Regions from separate parts of the Homo sapiens genome. Here region 2 is linked to region 1. The links are contacts of gene promoters, found by promoter capture Hi-C in blood cells and fetal thymus (Javierre and others, 2016). All regions are on one chromosome and are shown on one strand. The core of a region is centred on a gene start or on the middle of the fragment in contact, and the rest is flanking DNA. Distances in the headings are between cores, read along the strand shown. Region 1 holds the start of SMC3 (structural maintenance of chromosomes 3). Region 2 holds the start of GPAM (glycerol-3-phosphate acyltransferase, mitochondrial).

The links. Contacts are between HindIII fragments. The CHiCAGO score rates a contact against its expected background, and 5 or more counts as called.
Region 2: a contact is called between a fragment that was not itself captured here and the fragment with the promoter of SMC3 in region 1, in 5 of 17 cell types (naive CD4 T cells, total CD8 T cells, total CD4 T cells and 2 more). The highest score is 8.5, in naive CD4 T cells.

The regions. Positions count from the first base shown.
Region 1 is chr10:110,566,235-110,571,154 of GRCh38, reverse strand. It overlaps SMC3 (structural maintenance of chromosomes 3), which reads right to left and starts at 3,460. Exons shown (of 29, transcript NM_005445.4): 1 at 3,324-3,460; 2 at 2,142-2,217. The coding sequence starts at 3,338. LOC105378483 (a long non-coding RNA gene) reads left to right here and starts at 3,847. Exons shown (of 2, transcript XR_946318.2): 1 at 3,847-4,122. RefSeq lists a silencer at 2,851-3,140 and enhancers at 3,481-3,580, 3,591-3,640, 4,455-4,920. The HindIII fragment of the contact is 2,181 bases long and covers 1,477-3,657 here.
Region 2 is chr10:112,179,121-112,184,314 of GRCh38, reverse strand. It overlaps GPAM (glycerol-3-phosphate acyltransferase, mitochondrial), which reads left to right and starts at 550. Exons shown (of 22, transcript NM_001244949.2): 1 at 550-622; 2 at 1,424-1,521; 3 at 2,502-2,632; 4 at 3,720-3,842. The coding sequence starts at 2,531. RefSeq lists a silencer at 403-632. The HindIII fragment of the contact is 1,702 bases long and covers 1,859-3,560 here.

The sequences.
Region 1 (4,920 bases), core at 2,211-4,710:
GGTTATCTCTGAGTAAAAGGATTATAGTTTATCTTAATTTTCTTCCTTTTAGCTTTTCCATAATGTTCTATAACATGTATTTCTTTTGTTAAAGGTTAGGGGGAAAAAAATCCCTAAAAACGTATATGTTTGATGCATATACCCAACATCAGTACAAGAGATATTTTTTAATAGTCAACATCATTCATCAATCAAAGTGGTATGCTTTCACCAGATATTTTTAAGGCAAATCTCAGTACCTAACTACTTTTGGTCTTTCTTACATTATGTCTTACAACGTGTCTGGTTTTAAAATATGTTTAATCAGTACTGTTATCTTGGGTTCATTTGTTTTAGTTAAACAAAACCATTTTCCTTTGTAACAGTGACTATTAACAAATCTAATGCTGCAATCACAGAGGTAACACAACTAACTGATAACAGCTAAAACAATGGTATTTGATGGACCTTATAGACAAAATGTAATCATTCTAGCTAGTAAGTTACAGATCATTTATAAAATCACACAAATGAAATATTAAGGTACTTATTTTAAGGTGCAAGTTAAAGAAAACAGAAATCTAATAATTCTTATTTTTCTACATTTCTAAAGATTTTCTGATTGATGAAAAAAATCAGAAAGTACTTATATGTAAGCAAAACCCCAGTACAATTAAGCCACCCTATGGCATGTCAATTCAATTAAATGACTTCAGTAGACAGAGCACAAGCAGGGAAAAAAAAAGTATGCCTTCTTTATTCCCAACTACAAGGCTGCTATTGATAAATCGAGGGCAAAAAAACCTGCCTTCAATTTTATCATTTTATACAAAATGAAGTATGATTCTCTAAAGGTCTTCTGGAAACATTAGTAATGTGAATCTCACCCACGCACCACAGACTGAATTGAACTGACACCCTGAAACAACTGACACCTTAATCCCGAATGTGATAGTATTTGGACATGGGGACCCCTGGAAGATGATTATGGTTAAATGAGGACATGAGGATGGGGCCATGTGAGCACACAGCAAGACAGCAGCTGTCCATAAGCCAGGAAGAGAGCCTCACGAGAACCTAACCATGCAGGTATCCTGATCATGGATGTCTGACCTCCAGACTATGAGAAAAAAAATATCTTGTTTAAGCCACCAGTCTATGGTATTTTGTTATGGCTGCCTTAGCAAACTAATACACCACTTAGTTTGGACTCTGTACAGCAAAACTGTGTCAACAGCAGTCTGTGTTTCTGGTGTCCAGAAGCACTCCTTTCATCTATCCTGTAAAATACTCAGCAGAGTGTCAGAAAACATTTTTGTTAGCTGTATCAGCAAAATGCACACTACAATCTGAGCAATCTATAATGACTACATATTGTTAATGGCAATCACCATTAGCTCTTTATCTTCACACTTACATAAGGTTTCTCATTTAATCTTCTCAACAGCCCTATGAGACAGGTATCATCTCCACTTTACAAATGAGAAAACTGAAGCTTCTCAGAAAGTGAAAAAGAACGTGTGCCACAACTGGGATTTTTTTTTTCGTTGTTGTTATACTAGGATACATGTGCACAACATGCAGGTTTGTTACATAGGTATACATGTGCCATGTTGGTTTGCTGCACCCATCAACTCGACATTTACATTAGGTATTTCTCCTAATGCTATCCCTCCCCCAGGCCCCCACCCCCCTATAACTGGGATTTGAACCCCATTCTGTTATGCTCCAAAGTTTATGCTCTTCCAATCTAGCTACATGGTCTGTCCTTAGAGACACTGACTGCCGGGGTGGGGGGGGAATCCTGGCATCTACTTTGTGAATAAAAATTGTCTGTCTCTGAAATAAGGCAACAGTCAGCATTTTCACTAGGATATATAACAAGAACAGAAGAGCGGAAATGCTTTAAAACACTCTTACACACACATACAAGGCTACCTAGATAAAAAATGGATAACTTATGAGTGTCTTATCCAAACATTTTAAGTTTATAAAAATAAGCAATTCATCAGTGCAATAAGACAGAAAAGTTATTTCACGCAGAAAAATATAACTTAATATTCAAAGACAATTCCTGTCTCCTTAAGCCAATATAGAAATGGACAGAATTTACATTATCTGTATAGACTATAAATATGACCGAGTAAACCAAGAACACTTACCAATCACATTATGTTTTGAACTGAAGGGATCTACAATTGTTTGATCTCTGTAACTTCGAAAACCCTGGATAATCACCTAGTAAATAAAAAACATTTTTGAGAACCCACCCCACAAAAAAAATTAACATTTTTCTCTTGCATTTCTTTCTTGTTTTTCATTTAATGCAATATAGAAAACTCGAAATTTCATATAAGAAAAATTCATTTTGGAAAGTGGTGATTAAAAATCTGCTAAAAAAAAAAAAAGGTACTTTTATCGGTAATCTTTGCCAAGGCAATGCTGCTGGGTTTTATTTTTTTTTAGGAGTTATGCTGTCAACCTGTTAAGGACCTTTCAAAATCAAAAACACTGTGTGAGCTTAACTGAACCCTAAACGCTGCAGTACAATAGCAAGTCTATAAAAGCAGGCCGACGGGCCCCAGCTCTCCTGACTCCAAGACCACCGAGTGCTGCTTTCAGTCACTCACGCCGGCCAGCCTGAAAGAACCCACGTTCCAAAGAAGGAGTGCTCAGAGCCCGACAGACCCAACAGAAAACCGTCTCCAAGGCCGTGTGCCTGGGCTCATCTTTGTGGTGGAGTCCCGCGCGGGAAGACCATTTTGACAGAAGTAAACAACCGAGGGAGGCGGCGCTCCGTATCCTGCAAGCAGGAGGGTCCCGCTCACTTCGCGGGTTAACTGGGGAGAAGAACGGCTCCCCGCAGTGACAGGTGACGACACCCCAGCCAATGCCCCCAGGGCCGCCCCCGGGCCGGGGAAGCCACCTTTCCACACATCCCAGGCACATGGGCCGTGTGAGGCCACCCCTGCAGGACCACACAGCCCTTCCCGCCCGCGGCCGCCCCGGCGGGGTGCCCCCCGCCAGCTCTGGGGCCACCCAGGAAGGCCCAGTCCCTCCCAGCGGCCCGCCCGCCGGCCCTTCCACACCTCTCGGAGATCCTGCCTCTCCCAGACAAGCGCCAGCAGGGAGGCCGGGGCTGCAAAGGAGTGCCCCAATTCTCCGCGACCCCGCAGCCGGGGCACTAGCGGGACCCGGGTCTCCCTCCTCCCCCACAGTCCCCGCCCAGCCCTGGTCCAGCCTGTGGAGACAGGGGAGAGGCTGCGGGTGGCGCCGCAACACTCCCGCCTCAAGGAGCGGCCCTTACCGGCCCATGACGGGGTGGAGGGACGCGAAGGCCTTACCTGCTTTATGTACATGATTCCGGGCCCCTGGCCTGGAAGGAGACCTGCCCCGGAGCAGCAACCGCACGGCCGCAGGGTCAGGTGAGGCGCCTACGCGACCCCTCCCCCAAAGCGCCGCTCGCTCCCCTCAGCCAAACAAAATGGCGGCGCTCGTGGGGGCGGAGTCCGCGCCTCGGACGGAACCACCTTGCAGCCTTCACAGGGCGTAGGAGGAGTCAAGTTCAGGTCTGCTCTTTCTTTTAGGCAAAACCAGTCCTCCACAGCGTTTTTTGGTGGATTTCTTTTGAATCTAGAATTCTGTAGCTAACGCTTTCCTGAGACTTAGTCAAAAGCTTCACTCGGAAAATCTATGACCGTAGGGTTGGTCCGTACCACCTCCGAGCGCGGGGCCAATGGTCGCGTCCACAAAGGGGGAAAGGTTCCGCGCCAAAGCCAAGAGGGAGACTCCGAGGGCCAGTAGCGCCGCGGGCTGTCGGCCACGTGATTCCGCGCTGTTTAAAAAAGCGGACCTCGCGCGCACTGTGCTAGCCTTGGAACACATGGAATGCTGGTGATTCTTGGAATTCTGTGTGCGGAGTCACTGCTGCCCCTTTGTTATCGCTCTCCATAGGAACGTTTACAATCTTAGCACGCCCCAAGCTGGTTACGAATTGCCCACTCGGAGGACAACCCCGAAGGGATTTGTCAATGCTCGAAAATTTGTTTTAATAATGTGATGATTAATTCCGTCGGGAACTGTTTCTGTTCTACCATCTGCTATAAATCTAGGCAGATCTGTACAATTGCAACAAAGATTTAGGTAAGGCTGAAAGCTTTTAATCCACTTTAAAAACAAAAGAAAACAGCCTGAAAGATACTAGGTGCTAGTGGCAACCCTAGGTCTGTCTGATCCTTGTCAGTCTTGGGAGAAAAACATCATTTGTTTAGAAAATGAATCTCTGGGCTGCTCTGAAATTACTTGCTGGGAAGAGAACAAAATAACTACCCAAATCATCCCCAGCCCCACCCCCGCCCGCTGCTGGAGACAATTCTGGCCCTAATTATTTCTAGATTGAACTATTTTTAGTAGCCTCCTAACTGCCTCTGCTAACCAGGGTATCTCCCTAGGAGTCCTTTATCTGGAGCCCGGATCAAATCCTATCCAGCCCTTGGTTTAAAAAAATAAATAGGCCTGGTCGAGTGGCTCAAGCGTGTAATCCCAGCACTTTGGGAGGCTGAGGGGGGAGGATCACCTGAGGTCACGAGTTCAAGACCAGCCTGGCCAGCATGGCGAAACCCCCGTCTCTACTCGAAATACAAAAATTAGCTGGGCGTCGTGGCGGGTGCCTGTAATCCCAGTTAGTCGGGAGGCTGGGGCAGGAGAATTGCTTGAATCCAGGAGGCAGAGGTTGCAGTGAGCCAAGATCGCGCCACTGCACTCCAGCCTGGGCAACAGAGCGAGACTGTCTCAAAATAAATTAAATAAATATGTAAGCATTTTCTTTTCTTTATTTCTAACTTTTTTTTTTTTTTTTGACAGGATCTTGCTCTGTCACCCAGGGTGGAGCTGGAGCATAGTGGCTCGGTCATGGTTCACTGCAGCCTCAAACTCCTGGGT
Region 2 (5,194 bases), core at 1,460-3,959, 1.6 Mb before region 1:
ATGCTGTGTAACATATAGTCCGAAGGGGGAAAAAAGCCCTTATTTCTCCTAACTGAGGCTTTTTATACTACAAGCCTTATTTGCTTCTTTTCATATCTCATTTTCCTCCTTAAAGGAAAAGGCACTCAGCCACTTTGGTAGAAATTACACAACATGGCCATTTGCAATCCCTGCCTCTCCCATTCGTAGTAAATCCTACATAGTCTTACAGATCTCATAAAAAGTCAGACCACACACATAACCTGATAGCCCACGCGCACATTCCCAACAGAGCCTGGAAGAGGGACAAGCTCCCGGATAAGCTGAATTTACACAAAGCAGAATGAGGTACCCACACACACTCACACACGCATGGCCTAGGCAGGGTAACCATCTGTCCAGGCGCTCACACACTATCTTTAGCCACACACAGGCACGCACACTCGAGTACACACATTACACCCTCGGATCCGCTCACGCTCCCTGAGGCTCGCAGGCCGGGCCCCGCCCCCGGCGCTGGCTAGCCGGCGGCCCCGCGTCAATGCCACGCGCCGGTTGCGTCATCAGGGTGCGCCACTGCAGCTGGCATTGGCCGGGACTGGAAGTGCGGGCTTCTGCAGCAGCCGAAGCTGGAGCTGCTAGGGTGCGAACTGCCAGGGCAGGTGTGGGCTGCGGGAGGCTACTCGGGCCGGGAGCGCCGGGACAAGTGCATGGAGGTGGTGCGACTCCTGCAAGTTGCTGGGGCAGTCGTGTCCCCTATTCCCTGACACCCGAGCTCCGGTCTTCTCCCTGAGAAATCGGTCGGGCTCGTGCAGGGGTGGGGATCAGGATTCATCTCTCCTGGGGAGACTGCGCTGGGGCATGGGTTCCCCTGGGTTGGAAGGAGTCCTTATGGACTCAGTCCCCTAAGTATCTGCACGCGCGGAGGCGCCGCCAGCCAGCCCGCCTGGGTCCCTAGGGAACATTGAGGCAGTAAGGGGTACTCTGAGAGCAGCCGGTATGCTGGAGATAATTAATGACAGCGTTACCATTGATTGGACTGAGCGCTCACTGTGTGTTACACACTGTGGTAGACCCTTTGTTTATATTATTCCGTCCTCTCAACAATCCAGGAGGTTAAGAGCTATCATTCTGCCCATTTTCCAGATGGGAAAACTAAGGCATAGAAGTTAACCAACTTATGGTAATAAAAAATCACACAGATGGTAAGCAGTGGAAGATTTAAACCTCACAGCTGGTCTTCCAGCCTCTGTCCTTTTCAGATCCTCTAGTCAGCTTCTCTCAGCGCATGCTGCTGGCTGGTGCCTCTGGGATATTGCTTCTTTATTACTCCTTGACCTAGAGCGAACTGTGCGGAGGGAGGAAGTGCAAAACGTGGACCTCCTGTTGGCACAAACGAGCCTCTTTGTCCTCTCCTCATCCTCTCTTCACTTCATTTTCTCAGGCAGCAGCGGCTCCCCTGTTGTATGGACATTCTGCACCCGAAACTGATAGCTGAGTCCTGAAGTTTTATGTTATGAAACAGAAGAACTTTCATCCCAGGTGCATTGGTTTATTCTCTCCCCTAGCCTGTTATGTTAGATTGTACTTATGTTAAATTTTTAAGGACATAGGTGGTTATGCCGAGAATAACAGTGACTGTAGCCAACCCATGTGGGGATTGTAAAGAAATTGGAATATGCCTTCCAAAGGAACACTGTTAATCTAGACATGACCTTTCAGGATTTTAAAGGAATAATTTTAGGCCAGGTGAGAAACAGCCAAAAGCAAAAATAATGTGAGGCTAGAGATTATGTTTGAAAGTTTTTATATTTTGGATTAATATCTATTCTAGGAGTTTACTCTTAGTGAATCTTTTTCCTTAGGGTAGAAAAAAGCTTATCGAAAAGGATGAAAACTTATACATCAGATATTTCAAAATAGTGTGCTTTTCTTTCAGAGCTTTGTAGCTTTGTATTACCTTTGTATTAAAAGTGAAAATGTTCTTTTAGGACATCACAAGAAAATTAAGATCTTAATTTAAGTACGGGAACTTAAGGGGTGCCCTAATTGCCTTAATTAAATAAACATGCCTTCCTTCTGCCAGGAACTATTCAATTAACAAAAATGAAATAAGAATAAGCTCTTATTTTCATTTGCAAATGACTATTCATAGCTATTTTGTTTGGATACAATTCATAGCTATTTTGTTTGGATACTATTTTGTTTGCATACTATGTTTTGTTTGGATACTATTCATAGCTATTTTGTGTGGATACAAAGGATACAATGTTGTATCCTTATATATTCAGGAAGTCTTAGAATACAAATGCTGATTTTTTTTTTTTCTAGTCAGGGAAGCCTAACTGTGTTCATATAAACACATCAAAGTCAGTTTTTACCTTGTGACTCAACATGGTAGAAGTCTGTCAGTTCATGTGATATCCCATTGTGGAGCAAAGTAATGTAGAAATCAGAATTTTGAGTTCTAGTATTTACTCTCTCGATTCCTTGTTAATTTAAATGGTACCTATTTTTTATAGCACATGATTTGGGAATTACACTTTGTGACATGGATGAATCTGCACTGACCCTTGGTACAATAGATGTTTCTTATCTGCCACATTCATCAGAATACAGTGTTGGTCGATGTAAGCACACAAGTGAGGAATGGGTAAGTTTAGGATAAGAGTTAAAAGCACTCAGCCTAAAAATGTTCATTTCAATGATGTTTATGAAGGTGCAAATACTGGCAGCAACATAATATCACATCAAGATTAATAGCTACAGAAACTGGTATGTTTATGAAGCCTAATAAAAAATTTTATGGCATTATATTGGGAAGAAAAAATGGTTAGAAAATTTATGTACACTGATTATGTTAGAAAACAAAATAATCATTTTGCATAGGAAAAAAACCCTAGTAGTAGTTTTGGGTCGGTAAGAAATTTTTTTTTCTTTCTTTCTCTTGGTATGTACTTTCCATGAGTTATACTTGAAAAGCATGAATTTTATAATAGAAGTAAACTTTAAAAAATTAGGAACTTATAGTATGAATTCAATCCAAAAGGCGTACATTTTCTTGGATTGTTTTTCCTATTTCAATATAACATGACGTATTTTAAATATCTTAATTGTCTTTATATAAAAAATGGTGGGGTTTTTTTTTTTGCTTAATTTTGAGAATGTTATATCTGTATAACAGAGATGTGAGCAACTGAGCTCAAAGTTAAGCATTTTTAGAATAGAAGAGCAAGGTTTGACCCTAATTGAATAGTATAGCTATAATTTAAGTTCTGGTCTTTAAGTTCCCTTGATAAGATAAAGGAATGTTATATAAGTTTACCTGTTTTTTATTTAAAGTAAAATTATAAAAACTTGCTCACTATGTAAGGCCTTTATAGTTCTGTAGTGCGACTGTGTGATTTAAAAGGGGGTAAGGTTAATTGTTAGACTAGAGATCCAGGAGTCTGAATTGATTTATCTAGCTGTCAGAAGTCTGTTTGACCTTCTACAATTTAGTTTTTAAATTTTTGAATACTGCCTTCAGTGTGTAGCTATTACTATCCTTGGGTGCTCAGCTTTTGCTTATGTGGTAAGCTTTTATCCAAGTGTTGATCATGGAGGGAGTACTTAAATGAAAATCACCCAGAATATGCCATAAGTTTTTCTTCTGTTCAAAATACTTTAGATTTTGAGATCAAGTAGACAAGTATTCTCTTGCCATTTAGAAACTATATTTTTTTCTTAATATTTGTCAGGGTGAGTGTGGCTTTAGACCCACCATCTTCAGATCTGCAACTTTAAAATGGAAAGAAAGCCTAATGAGTCGGAAAAGGCCATTTGTTGGAAGATGTTGTTACTCCTGCACTCCCCAGAGCTGGGTAAGAACCTTACTGCTTATTGACCCTAATACTCAGCATAAAATATTATTTCCAACTTTGTAGTAGGCAGTCTTATTGGACTAAATTCACTTTCAGAACAGAGACCCATGTTTATGAACCAAATATTTCAAGTAAAGATGTTGACACACTTTTTCTTTCCATTTATTTATTCAGTAAATATTGGTCCCATAATTGATACTAGGTAACATTCTAGTTCTTTTGAGGTTTTAGTAGGATTTTAAGGGGGAGAGTAGATCTTACTTTTGGTTAAGTCTTCAAAGGAGTTAGTGGGAACCTTCATGAACTTTTAGGTGTTGAACTTTAGCACTTAACATTAAAATTCTAGCAAGATAAGAAAGAGATAATGGGACAGAATAAGAAGTTAAAGCTGTGACTTTGCTCTGAGCCTTTGCTAATGGAAGGTGTCTGTTGACTTTGTGATAGTGAAAGATTGTCACTAAAATGTTAGAATGAAGATTTAAGAGAGTGTATATGGGTTTGTTGTTTGTATTTTGGTGAAAAAACACAAGCCATGCAATATCTTTTGCATTACAGTGCAGTCTTTGAGAAGAGCCAAGTGGGTGAGAGGTATATTTTCGGTGGTAGTTGAAGAGAAGGACAAATTAGCACAGGAACAAGAACTTCACGTAGTTGTGTTTGAAGGCAGTAGAATTGCCTTTTAAAAGTCATATCTGGATGTTAAGCTCTCTCTGGGATCCAGTTATTAGGATGAAGAAATTCTGCCGTTTAAGTGCCTGCCATTTATAGAGGTTGCTTGTAACTTGTGTGGCTAGGTAATTGTGCTGTGTGAATTTTCTACTCAAGGTTGGTTTGGCAGAAAGTAGAATTCTGAGTCTGGTATAAAGGGGTTTACTAACATGGGAGAGATTTGTGTGGAACCCAAGCAGTTTATGTTAAATGTTCAGATCTGCTGAAGAATGTCTTGTTATAAATATTGCTTCTTTTAAACCACAACTACCTTGTTGCAAGAATTTGGTAGAATTCAAGAATCACAGAAATTTCTAGCCTAGGAGTAAAGCTAGTTCAGATTAATAGGTCACTTGAAATCAAGATTTAAACAGAATGTCATTTTCTTTTTAGATCTGACATCTAGTCTAATTCTAATTTTGAATACTTAAAACAATAACTACAATGTGTTCTTAAGTCAGAGGGTATAGGAAATAATTTGGTGGTGGTAATGGTTTGGAGTAAAGGGTAAAGGTAGATAGTACAACAGACAATTGATTTTTGCCCTACTATAGTACCTGATGGAGTTGAACTTGATCTTGAATTACTTCCATGACATGATCATTTAAAATAATTTGTTTAAAAATGTTTTTATTGGTAACTGT